Regions from separate parts of the Homo sapiens genome. Here region 1 is linked to region 2. The links are contacts of gene promoters, found by promoter capture Hi-C in human tissues and cell types (Jung and others, 2019). All regions are on one chromosome and are shown on one strand. Each heading gives the region's core, a stretch centred on a gene start or on the middle of the fragment in contact. The rest is flanking DNA. Distances are from core to core; before and after follow the strand shown.

Region 1 (3,005 bases), core at 216-2,715, 75 kb after region 2:
CGTAAGAAAAAGCAGATTGTAAGAAAAAACATGATAATTATTGGCACTTTTGTTATAAATACAAAACTGAGGGAACTGACATTTTTAACCGAAATAAGACTAACAAACATTATGCCCTTTCTTTTACAGTGACATTTCGCATCTTTCAAACCTGTGATGAGAAAAAGTTTCAGCTACCTGAGAATTTCACAGAGCTCTCCTGCTACAATTATGGATCAGGTATAATAGTCCCAAAGGTGAACATCAAAATTTACAAAGCAACATTTTCTGGCTTCTAGATTGACTTTGGGACAGGTGAGATATAGCTGGATTAGGTCTTATTTTTCAAAAGCAAAATGTAAAATCCTAGAAATTTGGTGATGCAATTAGCATTGGGGCAGAAAGTCTTGGGGACATTATAGTAAACTTTTAGAATAAATTTGAGGGGTATGTCTGAACAGTAAATCTGGAAGTGGAAGGTATTATTCCCAGGAGTGTACCTTTTTTTTCATTCACCTACTTCCAAAATGAGATGGAGAAAAAACGTATGGAGTAGAGAATTTATAAATATCTCACAAATATACTCTCTATGCTCTTCTATGTCATCCTGTTGCAAGTCCTAGCAAAATGCTACATGACACTAAAAAAGTGACTTCCTTCTCTGAGCTATAATTTTCTCACCATTAAATTGAGAGAAGTTAGAAGAATTATTTATAATAGACCTCAAAGGCAAAAGTTCTGTAATTCTAAGAAATCTAACTGTAGGGACCAGCCCCACAGGGTTGGTGGGTCTCTCCCTGTGTCCAGAGACGAGAGCATGTAGAAATAAAGACACAAGACAAAGAGATAAAAGAAAAGGCAGCTGGGCCCAAGGGACCACTACCACCAATGCGCGGAGACCGGTAGTGGCTCCGAATGTCTGGCTGCGCTGTTATTTATTGGATACAAGGTGAAAGGGGCAGGGTAGAGAGTGTGAGTCATCTCCAATGATAGGTAAGGTCATGTGGGTCACGTGTCCACTGGACAGGGGGACCTTCCCTGCCTGGCAGCCGAGGCAGAGAGGGAGAGGAGACAGAGAGAAAGACAGCTTACGCTATTATTTCTGCATATCAGGGACTATTAGTACTTTCGCTAATTTACTACTGCTATCTAGAAGGCAGAGCCAGGTGTACAGGATGGAACATGAAGGCAGACTAGGAGTGTGACCACTGAAGCACAGCATCACAGGGAGACGGTTAGGCCTCCGGATAACTGCGGGCAAGCCTGACTAATGTCAGGCCCTCCACAAGAGGTGGAGGAGCAGAGTCTTCTCTAAACTCCCCCAGGGAAAGGAAGACTCCCTTTTCCTGTCTGCTAAGTAGCGGGTGTTTTCCCTTGACACTTAACGCTACCGCTAGACCACAGTCTGTCTGCCTGGCCACGGGCGTCTTCCCAGACGCTGGCGTCACCGCTAGACCAAGGAGCCCTCTGGTGGCCCTGTCCGGGCATAACGGAAGGCTCGCACTCTTGTCTTCTGGTCACACCTCACTATGTCCCCTCAGCTCGTAGCTCTGTACGGCCTGGTTTTTCCTTGGCTATGATTATAGAGCGAGGATTATTATAATATTGGAATAAAAAGTAATTGCTACAAACTAATGATTAATGATATTCATATATAATCATATCTAAGATCTATATCTGGTATAACTATTCTTGTTTTATATTTTATTATACTGGAACAGCTCGTGTCCTCTGTCTCTTGCCTCAGCGCCTGGGTGGCTTGCCGCCCACATCTAACCCATCTATATACTACAGTATGGAGATTTGATTGAGGATACATTGTTTAGGTAACATAAGAGATGGCTCTTTGGGGGTCACCCAAATAAAATGCATAAATTTCTCTGACATTAGTAGTCTAAGAACAGATAATAAGGTTCTATATCAATAGCATAACTAAGATAGTTTGCATATATAGTTGCATTTCCTGGCACTGACATCCAGAGAATGAGAATTACGTTCAAAAGACCAAAAACATTCTGTTTATGTTTCTTGACATTGGAATTATCTAAAGTCTTAGATACTAAGATGTAGGGTATGAACAAGTGATTCCAAGGCTTCTGACTTAAATGAGGACTCCATGGGGCCAGATGAAGCTTTGGGTTTTCTTATTCGGTTCACCTGGGACACTCACTGAAACATCTCTCATCCTAGGTTCAGTCAAGAATTGTTGTCCATTGAACTGGGAATATTTTCAATCCAGCTGCTACTTCTTTTCTACTGACACCATTTCCTGGGCGTTAAGTTTAAAGAACTGCTCAGCCATGGGGGCTCACCTGGTGGTTATCAACTCACAGGAGGAGCAGGTAGCTGGAGTCCTCCGATGCCAATGTAACATTCCCGACATGGTCCACCTCTCTTTTCATACATATGCACAGTGCTTGACCCCCAATGACTATTGTTAATGAATGTACTAAAATGCATGCTGTTCTTACTATTTCGGTAAAGTCACTGCCTACCTTAATTTATTTTCCTTCCTAGAAGAACCTAAGAAAAAGGGAATTTCCATGTGGAGTTCCTTTAGTTAGGCAAGGGGAAAAAGAGGGTTGGAAGTGTTAATTTTAGACGAATCGTTATGTTTATGAACATATTATATGAAAGAAGAGAAGCAAATATTGTCCGTTTTCTTTAAGCTGTGATTAATAATATTTTGCGCTAGATATATTCAATAAATTTGGCCACCAATAATAGTAGATAAACTTTGAAAGAATTATTGAGGATCTCCTTTTCTGTTGAAGGTTATTTTTTCAGTTTAATTTTATGTTATGTATATTTTACCACAAAAAAAAATCAGTAGATAATCCTCATGATCTTACAGTTTCACTTATCTGTTATTTCTCATCCAGATTCTTTTTTACTTTTTGAGATGGAGTCTTGCTGTGTTGCCCAGGCTGGAGTGCAGTGGCGCAATCTCGGCTCACTGCAACCTCTGCCTCCCAGGTTCAAGCGATTCTCCTGCCTCAGCCTCCCAAGTAGCTGGGACTACAGGC
Region 2 (3,126 bases), core at 392-2,891:
GTCAGTTTGTGGCTATATTCTGGAAGCAGAGATAACAGGATTTGCTAATGGAGTGTGCATGGAATTTAAAAGAAAGAGAGGAGCTGAGAGACACTCTGCCCAGGTTTTGCCAAGCAATTGGAAGAATACTGCTGTTTATTGAGATGGGAAAGACGGCAAGAAGAGTAGGTAAGGCAGAGAACAGGGGTTCTGTTTTAGACAGGCTGGAGGTGCTCAGACATCCAAATGGAGATTCTGAGAGGGAAGCTGGATACACTTGTCTTGAGTTTCAAGAAGTGGTCTGATAGATTTGCCTGTGTCCCCACCCAAATCTCATCTTGAATTGTAGTTCCCACAATTCCCACATGTCATGGGAGGGACCCAGTGGGAGGTAGTTGAACAATGGGGGTGGGTCTTTCCCATGCTGTTCTCATGATAGTGAATAAGTCTCACAAGATCTGATGGTTTTATAAAGGGATTTCCCCCTGCGTGAGCTCTCTCTTGCCTACCACCATGTAAGATGTCCCTTGCTCTTCTGCCATGATTGTGAGGCCTCCCCAGCCATGTGGAACTGTGAGTCAACTAAACCTCTTTCCTTTATAAATTACCCAGTCTCAGGCATGTCTTTATTAGCAGTGTGAGAACAGACGAATACATGGTCCAAGCTAGGGCTATTGATTTGAAAATCATCAAGGTATAGATGGTATCAAAGGCTTGAGGCAGGAAGAGAGCAGAGACCCTAGCTGCATTGCTTAGCATTGCATCCCTAGCACCTGGCATAGTTTCCATTAACAGTAGGCATGAAGTATCTACTCAGTGAATAAATAGAATGCATATGGGCTACAGTAGGAGAGAGAAATAAAATCTTTAATAGACCAAGTTCTATGAGAGCACAAAATTAAAGTCTTTTATTTGAAGATCTTAGCCTGTTTTCCAAATTCAGTGCAGCCAGTTAGACACTGAATCTGTCTGGTGAAACAAGCATTTTTGTATTTTGGGGGACTGCTGCTGCTTCTGACTCCAAATTAAGGATTTTTTTTTTTTCTAAAAAAGATGGCTCATGCAAAAATCACTCTTTGGTGTAAATATCTAGTCTTCAAGCAATTCTTGTAATGCAATCAGAAAGAAAAAAATCCATGGTTTGGGAGGCAAAATTTTTGTGTTCTAAATTCTATATAACTGAGTTCATTTGCTTAACTGCAAAGCAGGAGCTGCTAGTGCCTGTCTGTACTGAGGTTCAGAGAGACTGTGGGAATATGGGGGAATTAGAGGCTATCTGAGGCTCTTCAACACAATAACCCAAGAAGCTATTTAAATGCTCTTTAAGGTATTTACATAAATATTACTATTCTCATTGTGCTTTTATTTTGTGTTATCATGATTATAATTGAAGTGTCTACTGTTACTGCCTCCTGATCTTTGCTAGCTATGGAGCATGGACTGGGCTTTTAGAGCAGCAGCCCCAAAGGAACCTAAACATTAAAGCAGAGCTGCCCTCAATGGTTTAACCTGTGTGACTCTGCCTATGACAGCCCCACCCACCCATCTTCACTGGATCCAAATCAGGAGCAAGGCCGTTGGGGTACCTGGTGGGGGTGATGCTGTCAGGGGAGGAGCCCAAAAGGGCAAGCTCAAATTTGAATGTGAAGGGCCAATGCACTGTCAGACTAAGACAGAGAACCATCATTAATTGAAGTGAGATTTTTCTGGCCTGAGACTTGCAGGGAGGCAAGAAGACACTCTGGACACCACTATGGACAGGTAAAGAGGCAGTCTTCTCGTGGGTGATTGCACTGGCCTTCCTCTCAGAGCAAATCTGAGTAATGAGACTGGTAGCTATCCCTTTCTCTCATGTAACTGTCTGACTGATAAGATCAGCTTGATCAATATGCATATATATTTTTTGATCTGTCTCCTTTTCTTCTATTCAGATCTTATACGCTGTCAGCCCAATTCTTTCTGTTTCAGACTTCTCTTGATTTCCCTCTTTTTCATGTGGCAAAAGAAGTAGTGCGTACAATGTACTGATTCGTCCTGAGATTTGTACCATGGTTGAAACTAATTTATGGTAATAATATTAACATAGCAAATCTTTAGAGACTCAAATCATGAAAAGGTAATAGCAGTACTGTACTAAAAACGGTAGTGCTAATTTTCGTAATAATTTTGTAAATATTCAACAGTAAAACAACTTGAAGACACACTTTCCTAGGGAGGCGTTACTGAAATAATTTAGCTATAGTAAGAAAATTTGTAATTTTAGAAATGCCAAGCATTCTAAATTAATTGCTTGAAAGTCACTATGATTGTGTCCATTATAAGGAGACAAATTCATTCAAGCAAGTTATTTAATGTTAAAGGCCCAATTGTTAGGCAGTTAATGGCACTTTTACTATTAACTAATCTTTCCATTTGTTCAGACGTAGCTTAACTTACCTCTTAGGTGTGAATTTGGTTAAGGTCCTCATAATGTCTTTATGTGCAGTTTTTGATAGGTTATTGTCATAGAACTTATTCTATTCCTACATTTATGATTACTATGGATGTATGAGAATAACACCTAATCCTTATACTTTACCTCAATTTAACTCCTTTATAAAGAACTTACATTACAGAATAAAGATTTTTTAAAAATATATTTTTTTGTAGAGACAGGGTCTTAGCCCAGCCGAGGCTGGTCTCTAAGTCCTGGCCCAAGCGATCCTCCTGCCTGGGCCTCCTAAAGTGCTGGAATTATAGACATGAGCCATCACATCCAATATACAGAATAAAGATTTTTAATGGAGGATTTAATGTTCTTCAGAAAATTTTCTTGAGGTCAGACAATGTCAAATGTCTCCTCAGTTTACACTGAGATTTTGAAAACAAGTCTGAGCTATAGGTCCTTGTGAAGGGTCCATTGGAAATACTTGTTCAAAGTAAAATGGAAAGCAAAGGTAAAATCAGCAGTTGAAATTCAGAGAAAGACAGAAAAGGAGAAAAGATGAAATTCAACAGGACAGAAGGGAAATATATTATCATTAAGGAGGACAGTATCTGTAGAGCTCATTAGTGATGGCAAAATGACTTGGTCAGGATTATTTTTAACCCGCTTGTTTCTGGTTTGCACGGCTGGGGATGCAGCTAGGGTTCTGCCTCAGGGAGCAC

What was found. Contacts are between HindIII fragments. The study calls those that stand out against the background at their distance.
Region 1: a fragment that was not itself captured here is called in contact with the fragment with the promoter of AICDA in region 2 in 2 of the 25 tissues and cell types used here (aorta and liver).

The regions. Positions count from the first base shown.
Region 1 is chr12:8,536,431-8,539,435 of GRCh38, reverse strand. It overlaps CLEC4E (C-type lectin domain family 4 member E), which reads left to right. Exons shown (of 6, transcript NM_014358.4): 3 at 130-219; 4 at 2,170-2,321. Among named protein-coding and RNA genes, the nearest start is that of CLEC4E, 3.0 kb to the left of the region's middle. The HindIII fragment of the contact is 4,467 bases long and covers 1-3,005 here.
Region 2 is chr12:8,611,374-8,614,499 of GRCh38, reverse strand. AICDA (activation induced cytidine deaminase) reads left to right here and starts at 1,641. Exons shown (of 5, transcript NM_020661.4): 1 at 1,641-1,740. The coding sequence starts at 1,733. The HindIII fragment of the contact is 12,992 bases long and covers 1-3,126 here.